Linked DNA regions of Homo sapiens: region 1 is linked to region 2. The links are contacts of gene promoters, found by promoter capture Hi-C in blood cells and fetal thymus (Javierre and others, 2016). All regions are on one chromosome and are shown on one strand. Each heading gives the region's core, a stretch centred on a gene start or on the middle of the fragment in contact. The rest is flanking DNA. Distances are from core to core; before and after follow the strand shown. Region 1 overlaps IFNAR1 (interferon alpha and beta receptor subunit 1). Region 2 holds the start of IFNAR2 (interferon alpha and beta receptor subunit 2).

Region 1 (6,268 bases), core at 1,699-4,198, 120 kb before region 2:
AGCCTGAGGTTGACCCTAATCTTGTCCCATTCTACTTATTCAGCTTTCTTCCCATTGCCACCTGGTGTCCAAATGTTCTGCTACTCTAGAAGGACATCCTCCCCACTGGAGAAGGCAAAATTCTGAGATGGCCCCCAAGATTCCTGCCCCCTGGTGTACACATCCTGTATAATCCCCTCCTCTTGAGCATGGGCAGGACCTGTAAATACGATGGAGGCCCTCCTCTCATAATTAGGTTACATTAAGTGGCAGAAGAGAAGGTATTTCACAGATGTAATTAAGGTCCCAAATCAGTTGAATCAAATGAGAGACTATTCTGGGTGGGCCTGACCTAATCAGATGAACCCCTTAAAAGAGGATCTAGGCCAGGCATGGTGGCTCATGCCTCTAATCCCAGCACTTTGGGAGGCTGAGGTGGGCAGATCACTTGGGGCCAGGAGTTTGCGAACAGCCTGGCAAACATGGAGAAACTCCGTCTCTACTAAAAATACAAAAAAAATGGCTGAGCGCGGTGCCTCACGCCTATAATCCCAGAACTTTGGGAGGCTGAGGCGGGTGGATCACCTGAAGTCAGGAGTTCGAGACCAGCCTGGCCAATACGGTGAAACCCCGTTTCTACTAAAACTACAAAAATTAGCTGGGTGTGGTGGTGCACACCTGTAGTCCCAGCTACTTGGGAGGCTGAGGCAGAAGAATCACTTGAACCCAGGACGCGGAGGTTGCAGTGAGCTGAGATCATGTCACTGCACTCCAGTCTGGGTGACAGAGTGAGACTCCGTCTCAAAAAAAAAAAAAAAAGGATCTAGAGGTCAGACTCTCCCTTCCTGATGGCCTCTAAGAAGTGAGCCACCATGAGCTCTAGAAATAAATTCTGCCAACAACATGTGAGCTTGGGAGCGGCCCCCAAGTCTTGTATGAATGACTGACTCCTTGACTGCTTAGCAGAAGAGCCAGCTAAGCCACGCTTGGACTCCTGACTCACAGAAACTTTGAGACAATAAACAGCTGTTTAAGTTGCTAAGTCTGTGGTAATTAGTTACAGACACAGAAAACTAACATCTAATAGTTGTCTACTTAAAAAAAATCTGAATTAACAATCAAGGCCTTGTTCATACCTTATCTCTTTCCTTATGGCTTCTTTGGTCTCTTTAGCCCCTATTCACCTTTACATTTTCAATTTCTGCAACCCTTATAATTTGTATACCACTCTTTAGTCCTAAACCACACAACACTTTGCAATGTTGGCTAACTGCTTTCAATTTTTGAACCACGTTTGATTCTGCTGACTCTTTCCATTTCTTCAGTGCTTTGTACAATATGGTAAGTACCCAAAAGAAGCTTAGAGATCAGCTATCAGAAATACCTCTCATTATCTATTTGGTGACCCTATTATTTATTCACTTCTGAAAGTGAGGTATACACAAAAGACTACTGAACAGTTTCCTGATTGGTTTGTGAGGTTATATATGCATTGTGGGGCACATATGCACATAAATGCATTTGCATTCTACCAGTCACCCTTGGTTCAAAATTAACACTAAAAGATAGAAATTGATCATAGCGGTACTTACACTTCCCTTCTCCCTCATTTTTTCTGTTTCTTTCCAGTTTCTTCTGACTTTTCCTTTCCTGTCTTAGCTATACTTGCCTTTGCTCTCTCTACTCCTCTGCCACCAATGTATATCTTTCTTTCCATCTCTTTTCTCCCCATAACCCATTTTTCCTTCTACTTAATTTTCCTCTTCTCTTTTCTCTATTCATCTCCTACAATTTTCCAATCAATATAAACTACATGCAGTTCTCTTTTATCAGCTTTTTAAAAATTTTAATGCTTAGAGATGGGGGTCTCACTATGTTGCCCAGGCTGCAGTGCAGCGGCTACTAGCAGGTGTGATCATACAACACTGCAGCCTCAATTCCTGGCCTCAAGTAATCCTCCTGCCTCAGCCCACTGAGTAGCTGGGACGATAGGCATGCGCCACTGCACCAGGCCAGTTCTCTTTCATTTATGCAGCGCCTGGACTTCATCCATGTTTAGCTAGCCTCTGCTCAACCACATAGAACATAGTTCTTTCCAACTTTCTTTCCCACCGAAGTATCTACTACAAAATTTTGTCAAAACCACTAAAGTAATAAAGAAAATAGGAAGGCTAATTTTTTGAATTGAACAAGTGAGTGGACTGAGATCATTTTAAGGACTCATGGAAGAAGTGAGTTCTTAGAAAAAGATCAGGGTCAACTGTCGAGTCTTCCAGATTGGGGAAATAACACATGCAACTAGTTACACTTTCTTTTTTTTCTTAAGCCAGTAAGAACCCCAGATATTAGAATCCATCTATTTTACAAGTGAAGAAATTGAGGCCCATGGAGGTTAAGCGATTAGCTCAATGTCATCCAGTTAGTTACTGGCAGAACTGGGGTTAGAAATGAGATTTCTCACGTTTCCAATATATCGTACCCACCTCCCAGTCGGTCATTCTGTGTGCAAGGACCTGGTGACTGATGCAGAGCGAAAAGAAGCATAATCAAAACAAACTGGGCAAAAGGAAATTTATGGAATGGAACTTACTGGAGCCACTGAACTTGAAAGGTCATGTTTGCATATGTATAATCCCATTTAAGAACATAGTTCTGATTTTGGACACTGACTTCTATATTTTCTGGTGGAGGTAGTTCATTTTCAACTAGAAGCCAAAGAACAGATAAAAAAAAGCACACATTTTTACTCAAGTGAGATAACTGGCAAGAAGATAAAGGCTCGCATTTTATCATTATAAGGTAATAGTTAAATATGGTTTGTATTCACACTATGTAATACTATGCAGCCATTTGAAAGACTACAGGCCGGGCGCAGTGGCTCACACCTGTAATCCCAGAACTTTGGGAGGCTGAGGTGGATGGATCACCTGAGGTCAGGAGTTCGAGACGCGCCTGGCCAACATGGTGAAACCCCATTTCTACTAAAAATACAAAAATTAGCCAGGCATGATGGCACACGCCTGTAATCCCAGCTACTCGGGAGGCTGAGGCAGGAGAATCGCTTGAAGCTGGGAGGCAGAGGTTGCGGTGAGCCGAGATTGAGCCACTGCACTCCATTCTGGGCAAGAGAGTGAGACTCTGTCTCAAAAATAAATAAATAAATAAATAAATAAATAAATAAATAAGTAAAAAAGAAAGAATGCAATAGATGGCTAAGATCAAATGAAGAACGTAATAGATCTGTATTGAGTGATATAGAATATCCCCAACACACTGGGTTAAGTAAGCAAGCTGTAAAATACTTCTAGTAAGATTTTATTTTGTAATTTTAAAAAACAAAACCCAAGAAACTGTGGGTCTGTGTATATGCTTACATAAATCCTGAAAAAAGTTGTGAAAGGATATACACAAACTGCTAAGCAATGCTTATCTCTAGTGAATGGAATTGGGGATAAGAAGGGAGAAGAAGACTTCACTTTAAACCCTTCCGTAATGTTTGATTAAAAAAAAAAGCATATGAAATTTACAATTAAAATAAACAAATCCCAGCTCCTGCCCTTGACCTTAATTATTGGAAAGATGTTACTAAATGTATCAGGATACTTTCATATTTTAACATTCCACTTACAAAGGTATGCTTTCTTGAACAATAACTTGTCTACTAGCAACTACTTCCCCACCTTTTCTTCCCACTTGCAGAACTCATAGTTCAGCTACCTCCTGCTTCATGTGGATTCTGAACAAATGAAAAGTTTTGTCATTACAAAATATTTGAACTTTTTTTTTTTTCTAAGACGGAGCCTTACTCTTTGTCCCCCTTGCTCCCGACTGGAGTGCAGTGGCGCGATCTTGGCTCACTGCAACTTCCACCTCCCAGGTTCAAGGGATTCTTGTGCCTCAGCCTCCCAAGTAGCTACCACTACAGGCGTGAGCCACCACGCCCAGCTAATTATTTTTAGTAGACACGGGGTTTTCCCATGTTGGCGAGGCTGTTCTCGAACTTCTGGCTTCAAGTGATCCAGCTACCTCAGCCTCTCAAAGTGCTGGGATTACAGGCGTGGGCCACTACGCCCAGCCTGAACTTTTAAGTAGAATTAATTTTCATTACTATTTGAGACAAAAATCCCAAGTAACATTTATTTTGCTTATGTAAATGTTACAATGTTTTTAACATATATTGACCTATCATGTAAACTTCAGCAATATGGGGAAGATGCCAAAATTGACAATCTGTTTATATATTTATTGAATCTAAAACAAAACATCTTCCTTACCTGTGGTCTTTATACAATGTACTGGACTATAGACACCAATTTTCCATGACGTAAGTAGTGCTGCTTTAACTTTTAGACAATAAGTAGTCTCTGGTGAGAGTTTATAAATTTTATGTCTGGAATAAATATTTTCAATCCTTTCCTATAACACAAATATAAGTTGGTTCTTTAAAAAAGTATAAAGTCAAATTTTAGGATTAATTCGCCTAATTTTTCTCTCACATCGATTAAACAGAGGTAAAAATAATGCTTACTTCTACACCTGAAGAGTTTTTCCAGATAACTAAGCTATATGTAAAGCTTAAACCATCCAAAGCCCACATAACACTATCTTTTGTTCCAGGAGAGATGTGTATCACTATTGCCTTATCTTCAGCTTCTAAATGTACTTCTGGAGGACCAATCTGAGCTGCAAAAAAATCAAAACAATTACTATGGAACTTTATTAATACAATGCCAAAACCTTCATTCAACAAATAATTCTGAGCACTTAATATGTGCCTGCCACTTCTGGGAGTTAAGAGCATACAGATAGGATAGAAAGCTGTAAGATCACCAGTGGAGTGATACAGAAAGAGAAGAGGTTCAATGACTGAGCCCAGCAGCAGTCTAACACTGAAAAGTTGGGAAGATGAAGCGATCAATGAGCAGGAGGAGAACCAGGAAAGAGCAGTGTCCCAGAGATCCAGTAAAGGAAAAACTGAGTGATGACCACATCTATGCTACAGAGGGATGAAGCCAGAAGAGGACTGGGAATTTGCTTGGCATTGTGGAGGCTGCTGTGACCTTGAGAAGAGTGGTTTATTTATTTTTTTTTTTTGAGACGGAGTCTCGCTCTGTCGCCCAGGCTGGAGTGCAGTGGCACGATCTCGGCTCACTGCAAGCTCCGCCTCCCGGGTTCATGTCATTCTCCTGCCTCAGCCTCCCGAGTAGCTGGGACTACAGGCTCCCGCCACCATGCCCGGCTAGTTTTTTTTTTTTTTTTTTTGTATTTTTAGTAGAGACAGGGTTTCACCGTGTTAGCCAGGATGGTCTCGATCTCCTGACCTCGTGATCTGCCCGCCTTGGCCTCCCAAAGTGCTGGGATTACAGGCGTGAGCCACCGCGCCTGGCCAAAAAGAGTGGTTTTAAGTGAGGAGGAACAGAATTTGAATGGAGAGGGCTGACAGGGAATTGGAAGATTAGTATAGAAAGGGAGTACAGATCATTCTTGGTACAGGGCAGTGGTTCTCAAACCTTTTGGTCTCAGGATCCCCACTTTTTTTTGAGATATGGTCTAGCTCTGTTGCTCAGGCTGGAGTGCAGTGGCACAAACACAGCTCACTGCAACCTTGATCTCCCAGGCTCAAGTGATCCTCCCTCTTCAGCTTCCTGAATAGCTGGGACTACAGGTGTGCACCACCATGCCTGGCTAATTTTTATATATTTTTTGTAGAGATGGGGTCTCACTATGTTGCCTAGGTTGGTCTTGAACTTCTGGCCTCAAGTGATCCTCCCACCTCAGCCTCCCAAAGTGTTGGAATTACAGGTGTGGGCCACTACACTCAGCTCCTTTACATTCTTAAAGGAATTATCGAGAATCCCAAACAGCCATTATTTATGTGGGCTGTATATTTTTATATTAGCATATTAAACATTAAAACTGGTAAAGTTTTCAATCCATTTTAACTAATTAATCCATTAAGAAATAACAATGGACTGGGCATGGTGGCTCACGCCTGTAATCCCAGCACTTTGGGAGGTTGAGGTGGGCAGATCACCTGAGGTTGGGAGTTTGAGGTCAGCCTGACCAACATGGAGAAACCCTGTCTCTACTAAAAATACAAAATTGGCCAGGCATGGTGATGCATGCTGGTAATCCCAGGTACTCGGGAGGCTGAGGCGGGAGAGTCACTTGAACCCAGGAGGCAGAGGCTGTAGTGAGCCGTGATTGTGCCATTGCACTCCAGCCTGGGCAACAAGAACAAAACTCTGTCTCAAAAAAAAAAAGAAAGAAATAACAATGATAAACCTAT
Region 2 (5,987 bases), core at 1,818-4,317:
TGTTCCAAGTGTAATTCTTTGTTTTTAGTAAGACGTCTTGCAATCCACGTTGTTCTTTCCTTTCCTATTTTTCCCCCTTACCATTTCTGTTCACTTTGCTGCTACTAGTTTGGCTTTAGTACCTCCTACTGATATGGCAGAGTGAAACCTCGACTTCCTTTCCACAACTTTATCTGATTCCAGCTTGTTCTGTAAAGCCTGGGCAATTTCTCTAGCCCAGAAGGTTGGTGCCCAGTGAACCTTCCCCCATCTCACTCACCTTCACCCAGCATAAAGGGCCCACTGTTCCTTTGTGAGAAAAGAAAAAAGCAAAGTATGTTGTGATTCAGTTTCCTCTTTTTTTTTTTTTTAACAAGGACTGGATCAGTCTCCTTCTTTCCTATTTATTACAGAGAAATCTCACTATAGTTTCTGGTGGTTGAGACACATTTAAATTTTAAATTTTTTTTTAAACTTGAGAATTAAAAACAAACAAATGAAAACCAATGACAATGCTGATGGATATCTCCACGTACCAGATGATAAAACCCTGGCTTGTGGGGTAACTCGTTTTCCTGTTAGGGCCAGAGAAAATTTTCAGTGGCTCTGAACTCCTCCCCATCATACATACCTCTCTTTTTCCCTCCTTTGTTTTGTCTTTTCCATACCTCTAAGTCAGCCAACCTCCTCTGCCAATTACCTGTTTTTCCTTTATTCTTCCCTGAATTGCATAGCCCCCAGTTTCATTCTTCCAAAGGAAGAAGAAGGACCCTCAGGGCCAGTGCCGTCAAGCTCTGCTCTAACTCACTAATATTTCACAAATTATAAAATGCCCATTTTCTTTTAACATTTGAGAATTTCTGAAATCAGAATGCTTTCATTCTGGTGGCATGGCATAGCATGATTGACAGTGTTTTTTCTTACTTCATTACATAAAATGAAAGTGCATCTTATAAGCAATGGCATTTTAGTTTGGGTTTTAGCTTTGATAAAACATGATGATTGAGCCTGTAATACTAGCACTTTGGGAGTCCAAAGCAGGTGGATCATTTGAGGTCAGAAGTTCCAGACCAGGCTGGGTAACATAGTGGAAATCCCATCTCTACTAAAAATACAATTAGCCAGGCGTAGTAGCACACGCCTGTAATCTCAGCTACTCAAGAGGCTGAGGCAGAAGAATCGCTTGAACCCAGGAGGGGGAGGTTGCAGTGAGCCAAGACAGTGCCACTGCACTCCAGCCTGCGCGACAGAGCGAGACTTTGTCAAAAACCAAACCAAACCAAACCAAACCAAACAAAACAAAACATGATGATTGATAACGGAAGATGATACATACCATTGACTCTTGAACAGTTTGAAGGTTTATAAAGGTAGCAGAAAAAATGAGTCCAATGTGGCTTTGAGTGTGCAAGTGTGAGCCATGGAATATATATTTTAATAAATGTTTCACGTCTATGACAGTACCTCTAGGGTTATGATCCTTTTCATACTACTTTTTGAAATGACTTTTAGACAAATCACCATTGTCAAATTATGTGAACCAAAATCAGATTTTCTTTAACTTTTCAATAAATACATGAGAAACTTTAGAGGAAATAATAGGTAAGAAAAATGAGTCATGTACATTTTTGATTATCTAAAATTGTGGAAAACAACTTTATGAACAATAGAACTTACAAGTTCAAGTCATTTTCTGCGACAAACAGATCAAGCCTTATCAGCTATGCCCTAATTGCTAGGAGTGTTTATCGAATATTTTCCTTAGGGTAGATTTTGATAGAGTATCTGCTACCCCCTCACCCCCTCAAGCCTGCACAGGTGGATAGGGGGTGGGTGGACAGGATACTGAGAAACCTTGGCAAGCAGTGGGACTTAGCCCCTGGGCCAGTGAGCACACATGGGAAACTCCACCTCTCCCTGAGCCAGCTCCGGCACTTCTCACCACTGAATCAACGCCCAAGCATGCTATATTCGTTTCTAAGACTTCTTGCTAAACAAAACAAGGAAATAAAAAAAAAAATGTTAAAAGAAAGGAGGTGGGAATACTCAGAGTCAATATAACCATCGCTAACCAAATAAACGGGCTGATGGAGTCAACTCGCTACTGCGTGTAACGGATTGATTTGCTCAGGGTTGAAATGCAAGTGCCGATCGCCTCTCCATATTCGCGGAGTATCTTCCCAGTATCTCCCCTCTCCGACCCTGGGAGGGTGCACCCTTCTGTCTCCGCGGCCACGTCCCCTCGCCCCTTCCCCCTCCTGCCTCCACGCAGCGGATCCGGAGGGGTGTAGGCCGCTCCAGCCCCGGCTGCAGTCTGTGACCCTGACGCAGGTCGAGGGGGGCTAATCCCAGGGGACCTCAAGGGGGCGGGCTGGAGATCCCGAACCTGAGCACCCAGCTGGTGAGCCGGTTTTGCAAGGCGGGGTGGACCTGGAGGAATGTGACCCTCAAACTTAGCAACGACTCACATCTTGCAGTGGCAAATGCCCGGTATCCTGGGCATCCTTGGTGGGGTGGGGTGGGACGCGGAGGGGTGCAACGAAAGCGGACTCCCAGCAGGGGCGACGCGTGGAGGGCGCAGGACAGGGCCCGGGAGGGGTCCTGGGGTCGCAGGTGCGGCCCCGGGAGAGAGGAAGGGCGCACTAGCCGCATACTCAAGACGCAGAGGGAGGGCAGGAGGAGGAGGAGGAGTCGGGGAGAGCGAGAGGGAACCGGAGGGGATTCCGGGAACCGCTGCAGGGAGGCGGCGTTTTCCCTCCAGTCAGCTGGCCACGCGCTCCGCTCCCGCGACCCCGCCACGCTGCGTTACCTTTGCAGCTCTCGCCTTGCGGCTCCCGAGAGATGCTAGCCTCGGGCCCCAGCCGCGCCCGGCTCTGGGACCCGACGCTCGCGGTCAGGATGCGCCTCGCGGGCGGCCTCTCGGACAGAAGCGGCGGGCGGGGGACAAAAGCGGCCCGTGCGGCCGGGTGGTGGTCCGCGGGCTGCGCTCGGGGAACTGTTCGGCTCGCCGGCGGGATTCCTACCCGCCGGGAAGAAGCGTCTTTAGTGCGGGTGCGCGCGCCGAGCCCCGGCCTACGAGGAGCGATACGGAAGCGCGGGCGCCGCGCCGCCGCCGGCGCGGGGGCGGGGGCGGAGCCAGGGGCGGGGCCGGAGCCAGGGGCGGGTCCTGGGCCGCTGGCGGGGCTGGAGCAGGGCCGGAGGCGGAGGCCGGGCCGGGGGCTGGGCAGGAGAATAGAAAAAAGGTCCGGTCATTTACAATCGTCTGCTGCCGATTGTCAGCTCCTAACCAATCCCGCCTTCGCCGAGAAAGCTCCATAGGGGAAGAATTTGGGACTGTTTTGTTTACTGAAGTATCCTTAGGGGTTAGAATAGTGCCTGGCATTTAGAAGACACCCAAAGATGTGTTGACTGACTGAATGAATGAATGAACTAAAGAGTGAATGGGTTCTCTCCTGGCTCCCCCACTTGTTAATTGTATAAACCTGCATGATATAATTCTCCAACTAGTAAAACGAGGATAAAAATACCTACCATTGAGTAAATGTTGTAAATATCTACAACATTATCCGTTGTAGATTCTCCCCTCTTCTCCGCGGGTCTCTTCTCCATACTCCTACCCTTCCCTCGACCCCCCACTGATCAACGTGTTTCGGGATAGGCAGAAAGACAGATGTTCTTCATTAATTTGTCTGCTTGTTATTTATAGCCTGTCAACTTCTAAAATAGACTATGAGGCCGGGAGCGGTGGCTCACACCTGTTATCTCAGCACTTTGGGAGGCCAAGGCAGATGGACCATCTGAGGTCAGGACTTCAAGACCCAGCCTGACCAACATGGTGAAACCCTGTCTGTACTAAAAATACAAAAATTAGCTGGGCGTGGTGGCGGGCGCCTGTAATCCCAGTTACTTGGGAGCCTGAGGCAGGAGAATTGCTTGAACCTGGGAGGTGGAGGTTGCAGTGAGTTGAGATTGCACCATTGCACTCCAGCCTGGGAGACAAGAGCGAAACTCTGTCTCAAGAAAAACGAAAAAAAAAAGAAAATCCAAAACCAAAATAGACTATGAGGCAGCTTTCAAGTAAAATGTATGTATATTCTAAACATTACAGCTACTAAAATGGAAATGTTAATATCTTTTTGAAGGAGAGGGAAAAGATACACTAACCACCTAAATTGTTTTAACTGAGTATTTAATCTCTCGTTCAGCTTTCTGGCCTCCTAGGAAAGGGAGGAGGAGGATGTTTCATACTTTTTGTAGATGGGAAAAATGAGCCTTTTAATCTATGAAGTCAACCAACATTTGCTGATACTCCTTTAAGGCTAGGCACAAGGGTGATCATAAAGAGGATGTCACGGTCCTGCCTCTTATGTGACCCTTGGCAGAATTCCCACCAGCCCCATACGATCTGAAGGGAACTTATCTAGGATCCTATTTCTTATAAAAGACATTCAACATTGAAAATATTTTCAGCCACAGTTTTAGAGAATTTGCAGAAATAGCCTCTGAAAATGGGAGAAATCCAATACCAAACTCCATGTGCTGCATGCACTCTTTTATATAAACATATATATTAAAAATAAAACTATGTCAAAACCTTAACTATGACTTATTGCAGATTGGATGATAGTAGGTGATTTTTATTTTGTTTCCTTTCCAAACATTCTACAGTAAACATCCTTACTTATATAATTAGGAAAAAGATTTTTTAAAAAACAAATGCAGTCCTGGCTAACACGGTGAAACCCCGTCTCTACTAAAAATACCAAAAAAAAAAAAAAAAAAAAAAAAAAATTAGCCAGGTGTGGTGGCGGGCGCCTGTAGCCCCAGCTACTCAGGAGGCTGAGGCGAGAGAATGGCGTTAACCCAGGAGGTGGAGCTTGCCGTGAGCCAAGATTGCGCTACCGCACTCCAGCCTGGGCGACAGAGCGAGACTCCGTCTCAAAACAAGCAAACAAACAAAAAACAAAACAAAACAAAAGCAAATGCAGTCTATGCCAAGGTGTGAAGAGCTTGAAAGCTGTCACTCCACTCCCCACAACAAGAGAAAAGCTGAACAAATTGAAGATTAACAACTCTTCTTGTTTCAGTATCAGTGAATTGAGTCACAGGGCAAACTGCAAAAACTGAAAGACAGACAAATGCAAAGAATCACAGTTTACAGGGACCAGAAGCCTCTGAAATCATAGCAAAACTTAAATTGTAATTGACTAATTGCTGGAGACTGAGTGTGGACTAGCTTGAGAATTAAACACTGTTGGGTACTCAGTCTTAGAGGGATGCTCCCCAAATTGTTAAAGGTTTACTCCAAGAAGCTCTACCAAGTTCTCATGGTAAAGACCACAGAAAAATTCCTGACTGGCCGGTGGGAGGGGAAAAGTAAACATTTTGAGATATGCCCAGAGTGTTCTGTAACAAAAACCTGTCCTCAGGGCAATTACATTACTGGAGCCTAAACTGACCTAGCAGAAGGGCAATTAGACAACTCAGCCCCCTCTAGCCTTCCTGTCTATCATGACTGGAGGAAAAAAGCAAAAGTTAAGAAACTTCTCGGAGGGTCATAGCCCAGAGACTCAGGCCCATTAAAGAAAACTCTGGGAATTAATCATAAGATTGTAGAATGTTTTGCCTCCACAGTATCTTACCACCACATCAACAGGACTCTGTAGTATAATAACGGTGGATTACAACTCCATTTAAGAAGGCATTTCTAGGAAAACCCAAAGACAATGGAGGAGACAAAAATGAGGACACTAAATAAAACTGAAGCCTCTGACACCTACAACTACAGCAAACATTTAACACAGCCTAACTCTTAGCCAGATAAACCTAACACCTTATCCTAAAGGGCCATTTATCTCAGCTCCCATGACCTGATATGTTATATCTAGTTTTTAACAACGAATTACAAGGCATGCTGAAAGGCAGACAACACCAAGCACAATTGGAAGAGACAAAGCAAGCTTAGAAATAAGACTCGGAGATGGCAGAGAATTTGCAAATCAGACTAG

The links. The method cuts DNA at HindIII sites, captures the fragments that hold promoters and counts their contacts. A CHiCAGO score of 5 or more calls a contact.
Region 1: a contact is called between a fragment that was not itself captured here and the fragment with the promoter of IFNAR2 in region 2, in 12 of 17 cell types (neutrophils, naive CD4 T cells, naive B cells and 9 more). The highest score is 11.1, in neutrophils.

Annotation. Positions count from the first base shown.
Region 1 is chr21:33,341,662-33,347,929 of GRCh38, reverse strand. It overlaps IFNAR1 (interferon alpha and beta receptor subunit 1), which reads right to left. Exons shown (of 11, transcript NM_000629.3): 4 at 4,508-4,662; 5 at 4,254-4,395; 6 at 2,570-2,684. Among named protein-coding and RNA genes, the nearest start is that of IFNAR1, 20 kb to the right of the region's middle. The HindIII fragment of the contact is 3,215 bases long and covers 1,341-4,555 here.
Region 2 is chr21:33,227,018-33,233,004 of GRCh38, reverse strand. IFNAR2 (interferon alpha and beta receptor subunit 2) reads right to left here and starts at 3,067. Exons shown (of 9, transcript NM_001289125.3): 1 at 2,789-3,067. IFNAR2-IL10RB (IFNAR2-IL10RB readthrough) reads right to left here and starts at 3,067. Exons shown (of 13, transcript NM_001414505.1): 1 at 2,789-3,067. RefSeq lists silencers at 1,189-1,378, 2,601-2,650, 2,671-2,730, 2,791-3,250. The HindIII fragment of the contact is 6,332 bases long and covers 1-5,941 here.